3 separate regions of the Homo sapiens genome follow, and regions 1 and 2 are each linked to region 3. The links are contacts of gene promoters, found by promoter capture Hi-C in blood cells and fetal thymus (Javierre and others, 2016). All regions are on one chromosome and are shown on one strand. The core of a region is centred on a gene start or on the middle of the fragment in contact, and the rest is flanking DNA. Distances in the headings are between cores, read along the strand shown. Region 1 overlaps ZMYND8 (zinc finger MYND-type containing 8). Region 2 overlaps NCOA3 (nuclear receptor coactivator 3). Region 3 holds the start of CSE1L (chromosome segregation 1 like).

Region 1 (3,079 bases), core at 15-2,514, 1.8 Mb after region 3:
CCCTTTGGAAACCCAAGGGAAGAGTGTTGGTGGGGAGCCAGGAACCCGGGGTTCTGGCCTGGCCTCTGTCTTGTGTCCTAGGGCAGGTGATATCCCTGGGCCTCTGTTTTCTAATCTGTAAATTGGATCAGTTTGAACAGCTTGTCCCTGCTGTTCCCTTCCAGCCCTCTTCATTCTCAATAATCCCAATTAGTTATCAACGTTGCAAAAATTTGGCACCACATGTTTAGTGCCATATAAATTTAAAATCTCCGTTGGTAGGTCCTGTGTCTCCTAACAACCAAAACCCTCTCCCAAGGCAAGTACCACTTGGCAGCCGTAGCCAGTTGCCACTTGAGATTATTACTGGCCCCATTTAGGCCAATGTGATGCGATTTGAAACGTGCTTTTCTTATTCCAGCATTTGGTGTGGAAAAATGTTTGCATTTTTCATCCTGCTCTTTATTTTGTGACTACGCCACATGCTGGGTTTTCTTTTTGAATTTAGGCATAAATGAAATCTCGGAAGATGTCTATACGGCCGTAGAGCACAGCGATTCGGAGGATTCTGAGAAGTCAGATAGTAGCGATAGTGAGTATATCAGTGATGATGAGCAGAAGTCTAAGAACGAGCCAGAAGACACAGAGGACAAAGAAGGTTGTCAGATGGACAAAGAGCCATCTGCTGTTAAAAAAAAGCCCAAGCCTACAAACCCAGTGGAGATTAAAGAGGAGCTGAAAAGCACGTCACCAGCCAGCGAGAAGGCAGACCCTGGAGCAGTCAAGGACAAGGCCAGCCCTGAGCCTGAGAAGGACTTTTCCGAAAAGGCAAAACCTTCACCTCACCCCATAAAGGATAAACTGAAGGGAAAAGATGAGACGGATTCCCCAACAGTCCATTTGGGCCTGGACTCTGATTCAGAGAGCGAACTTGTCATAGATTTAGGAGAAGACCATTCTGGGCGGGAGGGTCGAAAAAATAAGAAGGAACCCAAAGAACCATCTCCCAAACAGGATGGTAAGTGATTGTATCTGTTTCCAGTTTTCTTAATTTGGTTTAGAATCCTACCTCGTACACTTACTATCAAAAGTTATGTGACCCTTAAAGAAACAAATCAGAAGTTATGTGACCCTCTAACACACTGAGAGAGAGGCACAGTGAAGCTGTGTTTGGTTTAAGGTTGCCTAGCTAGTCATAGAACAGGACCTGGACTCAAACATGGGCCTGCCTACCTTTAACCTGCTCGGTATCCAGTATGATTGATTTTGAGTACAGAAAGAGAAGTCTGTTAGAAAATGATGGTTACTTTTAGTGACCAAGTCATTTTTAGTCTGAGCAGCTTCTTTTCCAATATGCTCATTTATTTCCCCAAAGTGTTTGTTAACATTTGGATCTTGTCAAATGGTCCTTCAGTGCTGCATTCCACAGACATCTCATTCTCTTTTGACAAGTCTCAAACGGTTAGGAGTGTTCATTTCAAGCTGGGCATGGTGGCTCACGCCTGTAATCCCAGCACTTGGGGAGGCCGAGGCGGGTGGATCATTTGAGGTCAGGAGTTCAAAACCAGCTTGACCTACATAGTGAAACCCTGTCTCTACTAAAATACAAAAATTAGCGGGGCGTGGTAGCAGGCGCCTGTAATCCCAGCTACTCGTGAGGCGGAGGCAGGATAATCGCTTGAACCCAGGAGGCGGAGGTTGCAGTGAGCTGAGATTGCGCCACTGCACTCCAGTGTGGGTGGCAGAGCAAGACTCCCTCTCTAAAAAAAAAGCAGTGTTCATTTCAAAGGTTTTGATGATTTCAGCTTTGCTTTCCTCCCCTCATGCCACCTAGGCATCTCCAAGTGTATTTTCTTACAGTAGTAGGACAGTATTTGGGTGATTGGTGCCAGAATACTGAGTGCTTCTTAGGGCACTAGAAAATGGAGTATGGTGGATATGTGTATTGGCTTTTTTGGGGAGGGGGGGCGGACAGAATTTGGCTCTTGTCGCCCAGGCTGGAGTACAATGGTACAATCTCGGCTGACTGCAACCTCCGCCTCCCGGGTTCAAGTGATTCTCCTCCCTCAGCCTCCCAAGTAACTGGGATTACAGGCACCTGCCACCACGCCTGGCTAATTTTTGTATTTTTAGTAGAAACAGGGTTTCACCATGTTGGCCAGGCTGGTCTCAAACTCCTGACCTCAGGTGAGCCACCCAGCTCGGCCTCCTAAAGTGCTGGGATTACAGGCATGAGCTACTGCGTCTGGCCTTACTGGCTTTTAATCTTATTTGCATTTAACTTAGCTCAGAGTTTCACAACCTTGCACTTCTGACAGTTTGCCCTGGCTAATTCTTAGTCCTGTGTATTGGAGGATGTTTTCCAGCATCCCTGGCCTCTACCAGCCAGATGGCAACCTTACTTGCTCAGTTGTGGCAGTCACAAATGTGGCAATCAAATATTGCCAAATATCCCCTGAGTCTCAGAGGCTACGGTTATATTCTGAACCAGCAGTGACTACCCCACAGCCTAGTGCAGCCTGGGCATGTTAACAAGCCCAACAAAAGGGGTGTGGGAATGATTGGAAGGATGTCCTTCCCACTGACAAAGTATTCAGCACATTTTTGAGTTGGCTTGGCAATTAGGTTAGAGGATTCAACATGCTCAATAAAGATACTGAAGAATTAACTAAGGGCCCAGAAGAAACATTGCCCCAGGACAAATTACAGGTTGTAGCCATAAAACCTTATGTATGTGGCGAGTGACTTAAGGGATAGCCAGGTTTAAATCTTGACTGTGCCTAACTTCTATCAGGAGCTAACTTGTCAATGAAACCCTTGAATAAGATGTAACTCCATGTCCTTTGGGGTTTCCATTGTCTGGTGGCTTAAAGCAAGTCAGGGATGGGCCTTGAGAATCTTTCTGCTGTGGTTATGGTCAACCTGGGCTGCTCTGGAACCTCAGCTGTCAGAGTGAGAGAGGATTCCTGCAGTTCAGCTAAAGAGAATGTCTGTGAGAGGTACAGTGGAGGAAGAGAGAGATACAGTTACATAAGGGAGGGAGGATAGGCCATCAAACCATCCCGACCCATCTGTTAGATTTATAGATGGCCTCTGAAAA
Region 2 (3,273 bases), core at 406-2,905, 1.4 Mb after region 3:
CTTGAGGTTTTGCTCCTAGGAACCTAATTGTGAACAAAACTCACAGCTTCTGCAAATAAAAAGGGAACTGGGCAGGCATACATGTAACTGGCAATCCATTCTGTTTACTTTCAGCTGCACCCACCTCTGGATCAAAGAACTTCTAGGACATCAAGCCAATTATCTTCTGTAATACCCTACCCCTAATATAGATACCCCCAACTCACCTCAGATATTAAATACTGATAACTAAGTAGCACTGTTATTGATATTTACACCTTTCAATCCAGATGCAGTTTAGAAAAGTGGCATCATAATATGAACATTAACAATGTAACTTCCGTTTATTTTTTAAAGGAAGAAACATGTATCTCCTTTATATCATTCTGATCTTTATAAAATATATATATTTTATTTATATATCTTTGGATTCAGCAAAAAAAAAAAAAAAAAGTAGGTACTGGAAATATCCCACATTCTAAAAGCAGATGAAAAGATTATACTGTTCACCCAACAGATACCAAGGTTTGAAAAAATGGGGGGTGCTGGGGTGTGAGGAGAGGTAGACAGCAGGAGTACAAAGAATTACCTAAAAAAGATAAAGGGCAATACAGGTAAAAACAAATTATCTCAAAGACTGCACCTATTAAAAGAAATCTTGAGTTTGCACCAAATGAACAAGTAGAAAATATAAAAACTTATAATAAACTTCATTTTTCTACTATATAAAAAAGGGAGTGCTGCCTTCCAGTTAGCCTGGAGCCAGGTCTGAGGAAAGGATTGCAAAAAAATTTATTTTTTTTTTGTTTTTAATAATTTTTTTAAAGTCAAGAAAGATAAGAGCACCATTCTATTTCTCCCCACACACATAACTTAAAGAAGGGTCAGATACAATTGAGCTGAAAAAGAGACAGACTGACCTGGTTCTTCCTCTGTCTCCAAACAGGAGAGTATACTATCTGAAAAGCACAGGCCACTACAATGGAAGTTTTCGGATTTACAATCTTTCTTAGATATATTTTGAACTTGGTAGGGGAAAGAGGGCAAACTCATAATTGTCTATACTGCTTTGAAAATAAGATCCACTCTGGTGGTGGGTCTGGAAATAATCAGGATTCACTTACTCGTAAGCATATCAAAGATATTAAATGATCTTACCTTCAGAGACATCTAGAAAGATTGGCTAAATGTGTGAAATTCTTAAAATTAACTGGCTCTCAGTTATTGCTAGAAAATGATACCAAGGCTAGCAGAGACCTCTGAAATTCACAGACATTCAGAAACCCAATTCCGTCAACTATTTGAACCAAATGAATTAACCCAGATAAAGGGAATTAAACTTGATTTTTCCCTTCCTCCCAACTGACTAAAACAGGTGTCAAAGAGAGGCAACAGCAGAAAAGTGGTAGGGGGCAGAAGAGGGAGGGGTTTAAAAGGTGCTCAGTTAGACTGTGGCTCTGAATCACAGTAAAACTGGCTGTTCTGGGTACTGAGTTACTTAAGAAATAACTGACACTATTCTAATCCACAGGGACATAATGAAAGCATCACATTAGTAGAATGAGGGGACAGCTGAGCAGACACCAGAAACCACACCAAGGATTCTACTCGAGATCTCAATATGGGATTCAGGTCTTAGCAACCAAAATCTGAAAACGCTCCTAAAGGGGATGAAAAGGTAACATAATTAAACATACACACACACACACACACATACACACACACACACAGCCCATGAATTGCTATTATTTCGGACTGCTTAAAATCCAAAAGATTCTCTTCAAATTGCTCGTTTTTTTAAATTCCTGATTTTTTTTTAAGTTTATTTCCCCATATCTATTCTTTCCCCCCAAATTAACAAAGTGCTTAGTTCTGGTAGAGGAATTTTTAAAAAATTAAAATGCCTACATCTAAACAAATAATCTCTTTAAAAAGCATTTAGATTAAGAGATTGAAAAGAGCGAGGCATCTAAGGCTGGGGGGTGGGGAAGGAAAAGCTGTGGAGCACTACCCCTCCCCCAGGCCACAAAAGTCAAGGGATGTCTCTTCCACTGGTAGCCTCACCACACAGCTTACTGAAATCAACAATGTTAAATATTTAGCTTCACAAACTCTGTAAAAATGAGTTGTTGTGACCTACAAAAAAAGGTATATACATATTTTACATAATACAATATCTTAAAGGTCATATTTACAAAAAAATCTATTCACAGAAACACTGCGAGATTCTGATTCAGAATGCAGTACCTGGCCTTGGGTTTTCAGAAGTTTATTTTTAAAAAGCATTATTGCTCTACCATATAGGCAAAGGGTGACACCAGTACTTTAAAAAAAAAAATCATAGTTCTTGTCTAACACGTAAGTGTAGGCAAAAACCAGGAATGTGTTTCACTATTCCCTCAAGACCTCAAGAATATTGCATTTATCCATTCTTTTTAAATAAAGTGCACTCAGCTGCACATTAGCATGTGAAAAGTTTGCTACTGCTGCGATTAAATACTGTCATCTCATTTCCTTTCTGCAAAGCCATTTGGACATCCATGACAGTTCCTGGAGGTGAAGTATTACAGGACATGAATGGCAAATGAAAACCTTCATTAGGAGAAAGCCTAGGGCAAATAATAGGGACAGAGCAACTCAACACCATTAGTAAAGGACAATTCAGAATCACCAATTCCACTGGACAAAGGGTCAACACAGAACTACTACACCTGAAGGCTGGGACTATGCTCTTTGTCCAATACTGCAACTAGAGAAACCAGATATTCTAATCTCTCTTGATTCTTCCAATGTTCTCTGGCCCACCTACGTGTATTTAAGAGATTTTGGCTAGCAAGGCAGAAAAAAGTGACACAAAAGTTTTATGATCAGTAACACTCCATGTCTCCAGAATTATATCCCTAGGAGGTGGAATGCCAAAAAACATTTCTGTTTTGAACACCATGATACACAGCAGAAGGAGGGGGGAAAAACACGTAGATATTGCCCTTCGGCTTAAAATCCAGTCCTGCTCAAATGACATCACTTAAAATACCCTTGATGGAGCTCAAAGCTGGTCCTTTCTTCCAAGATGGATGCCTGGAACAATGATTCCTTCCCAATAATCCTAGTGCAGTGTCATTTGTACAGTGGTTTCCTTAAGAGGTCCTGGTGCAGAGATGTCAGCAGTATTTCTGTCAGCAACCAGGAAAAAAAAAAAAAAAAAAAAAATGAGTAAAACACATGCTTTGCACAACAAAAAAATACCCATGTCCACATTCATGGCTTACAGTGCAGCTCTGGCTGAGTGATTCA
Region 3 (3,246 bases), core at 1-2,500:
AAGAGAAAAGAAAAAGAAAAAGAAAACAAAAGAAGAGGTTGGTTAGGGGAGGCCTAAGGTGAGGGAAACTTGGGAGAGGCGGCCTGCCTTGCAAAAATGTTGGTACTTCCCCAGCAAACAAAAGGCATGTGCAAATAATTTTAAATCGGAATAACCCTGGAATATGGAAGAAACAGAAAGCCACACTGGCTAAGGAGAAAGATGGGTGGGAGAGATGAATAAACAACCGTCAGCTCCCAGGGAACCTTTGTAAACCACGGTAAATAACTCAGCGCATCCTCAAAGCCACTTTCCGAGGTAGATTCTGTTATTAACCCCATTTTGCAGCTAAGGAAATGGAGGCTCAGTGAGATGAGGTGACCAGCCTCAAGTTACACCCCTAACGAGAGGCTACGTCTGGAATGAACCCAGGCGATCTAATTCCAAAGTCTATGCTCCGAACCACCACAGCACAGCGTTTCTCCCAAAACGAGGGAACCCTCCCCCAACCCGCGTTACAGGGGATTTCTATGTCCCGGGTGTACCGACTAGAATTCTCACAAACAATTCAGCAAAGTGAGATCACGATGCCCGTTTTACAGTCAGGGATACAAGTACAGAGGTTAGAGAAGGGTGAGTTCGGGGGCTTCACTAGAGTTAGGGCAAGGGACGACGCGAGGCAGCCGCAGCTCCACGCGCCCGCAGTCCCCGCCCGGGCAGGCCTCGCCGCCGCACACTCAGCTCGCGCGGCTAGCAGCCACCGTCGCAGAGAATGGACATGCGAGCGCGACCAATAAGGAGCGGCCTTCCCGAGCGGAGAGGCGGCGGCGCAGCCAATCAGCGCCGTGATGGAGAGGAAAGGGCGGGCAATCCGCAGGCTCGCGTTAGGCCGCGCCTCAGTTGCCCTCAGCCCTCACAGGCCCTGGGGTCGCCGCACCTGGGCCAGAGACCTAGGATGCCGCGAGGCGCGGCAAGCGCTCCCTAGGGAAGCCGAAGACCTTGCCTGAGCGCACCACCCGAACCCCGGGCCCACATTCCGCTCTCGCCCAGAGGCGCGGTTCTCACTCCCTAGCGCTCGTTAGTACCGGGAGCGCCTCATCCCTTCCTCAGCTGGGCCCCAAGAGCCACTCTGGTAGGCCGTGCACGCCCCGCGCCTCACCTCGTGGGGATACAGAAACGGAGGAGGGAACCCCAGCCGCGGACCGTAGCTGGCACTACCCGCTCCTGCCGCCGCTCCGCCTCACATTCAAACCCCGGCAAAATGGCGCGACAGCGAGCCTGAGGCCAGAGCGCATGAGCGAGCGGCCCGCTGCAGGGGGCGGGGCCAGGAATGCTCTGGCCCCACCCAAGTTCGAAGGGCCAATCGGGGCCCCGCTCTGTTTCTGCGCTGATCTCACAAGTGACAATGCTCTTTGGCTCTGACCATGCCAGCAGGCTTCACGGTTCTCGTTTTCCAAAGAGGAACACAGATTCAGCGAGCGGCTGCTGGCTTCTGACCCATTTTGATGTCAGGGCTTGGCACGTAGGAGGTGTTCAATGTTGATCGATCCAAGGTCGTGCACATAGGGTCTAAGACGGAAGAGAACTTCCTGCCCCTCTTGGAGCTTCTATTTTAGAGGGAGACACGGCCAGACAGGTCTCGAACTCCTGGCCTCAAGTGATCCGCACACCTTGGCCTCCCAAAATGCTGGGATTCCAGGCGTGAGCCACCGCGCCTGGCCTGGTATGTAAGTTTTGGTACTCTTATTACAGCCCACAAACCATATGGGATCTGGCCCCTGCCAGCCTGCCTGCCCTCATCACCTTCCGCTTCCCTCCTCTCCTCACCCTCACTCAGCTCCGCCACCCCACCTTCTTCCTGTTCCTCTAAGCTCCAAGCTTATTTCCACTTTAGAGCATTTATACTTGCTGTTCCCTGTGCTGGGATGTTCTAGATTCCTGAATGATTGGCTCCTTCTTTACATTTAGGTTCCAGCTCAAATGTCACCTCCACAAAAGAGGCCTATCTGAAATTGCCCACTCACCACCACCCAGCACACAAATTAGGGTTGCCAGGTTTAGCAAATAAAATGCAGGCTGCCCAGGTCAATGTAAATTTTAGAAAAAAATTTATAATTTTCTAGTATAAATACTGTGTAGGACATATTTATACTTAAAAATCATGCATTGCTTATCTGAAATTCACATTGAACTGGGTGCCCAGTGTTTGATCTGGTAAGCCTAGTTCCATGATATCATTATGGTATTTATCACTCTCCAACTAATTGTCTCTTCTTTATTTTGTTCCTCCTTCCGCTTCTCCCCTCCTAAACCCCTGCCCTCCTCCCCATCCATAACCTAAGGGATTCTATACAGCAAGGGCTTTTCTTTTTTTTTTTTTTTTTTAAAGACAGAGTCTTGCTCTGTCGCCCAGGCTGGAGGGCTGGAGTGCAGTGGTGCTGTCACAGCTCACTGCAACCTCTGCCTCCCAGGTTCAAGCAATTTTCCTGACTCAGCCCCCCAAGTTACTGGGACTACAGGTGCCCGCCACCATGCCCCGCTGATTTTTGTATTTTTAGTAGACACGGGGTTTCACCATATTGGCCAGGCTGATCTTGAACTCCTGACCTTGTGATCCGCCAGCCTTGGCCTCCCAAAGTGCTGGGATTACAGGCATGAGCCACCACGCCTGGCCAGGGCTTTTTTTTTTTTTTTTTTTTTCTTTTAAGAGGCAGGGTCTTGCTCTGTCACCCAGGCTGCAGTGCAATGGCACAATCATAGCTCATTGCAACCTCGACCTCCTAGGCTAAAGCAATCCTCCCACCTCAGCCTCCTGAGTAGCTAGGACTACAGGCACCTGCCACCACACCTGGCTAATTTTGAATTTTTTTGTAGAGATGAGCTCTCACTATGTTGCCCAGGCAAACTCCTGGCCTCAAGTGATCCTCCCACCTCCGCCTCCTAAAGCACTGGGATAGGGCTGGGCATGGTGGCTCACGCCGGTAATCCCAGTGATTTGGGAGACCGAGGCAGGCAGATCACCTGAGATTGGGAGTTTGAGACCTGACCAACATGGAGAAACCCCGTCTCTACTAAAAATACAAAATTAGCCGGGTGTGGTGGCGCACGTCTGCAATCCCAGCTACTTGGGAGGCTGAGGCAGGAGAGTCGTTTGAACCCGGGAGGCAGAGGTTGCGGTGAGCTGAGATCTTGCCATTGCACTCCAGCCTGGGCAACAAGAGCGAAACTCCATCTCAAAAAAAAAAAAAGCCCCGGGATTACAGGTGT

What was found. The method cuts DNA at HindIII sites, captures the fragments that hold promoters and counts their contacts. A CHiCAGO score of 5 or more calls a contact.
Region 1: a contact is called between a fragment that was not itself captured here and the fragment with the promoter of CSE1L in region 3, in 1 of 17 cell types (naive B cells). The highest score is 5.8, in naive B cells.
Region 2: a contact is called between a fragment that was not itself captured here and the fragment with the promoter of CSE1L in region 3, in 1 of 17 cell types (naive B cells). The highest score is 8.1, in naive B cells.

The regions. Positions count from the first base shown.
Region 1 is chr20:47,243,926-47,247,004 of GRCh38, reverse strand. It overlaps ZMYND8 (zinc finger MYND-type containing 8), which reads left to right. Exons shown (of 23, transcript NM_001281775.3): 14 at 488-997. Among named protein-coding and RNA genes, the nearest start is that of MIR3616, 78 kb to the right of the region's middle. The HindIII fragment of the contact is 4,630 bases long and covers 1-3,079 here.
Region 2 is chr20:47,653,285-47,656,557 of GRCh38, reverse strand. NCOA3 (nuclear receptor coactivator 3) reads right to left here. Exons shown (of 23, transcript NM_181659.3): 23 at 1-3,152. The coding sequence ends at 3,141. Among named protein-coding and RNA genes, the nearest start is that of SULF2, 130 kb to the left of the region's middle. The HindIII fragment of the contact is 7,144 bases long and covers 1-3,273 here.
Region 3 is chr20:49,044,316-49,047,561 of GRCh38, reverse strand. CSE1L (chromosome segregation 1 like) reads right to left here and starts at 1,250. Exons shown (of 25, transcript NM_001316.4): 1 at 1,139-1,250. CSE1L-DT (CSE1L divergent transcript) reads left to right here and starts at 1,506. Exons shown (of 2, transcript NR_110625.1): 1 at 1,506-1,702. RefSeq lists enhancers at 252-892, 858-927, 1,478-1,627. The HindIII fragment of the contact is 3,278 bases long and covers 1-1,859 here.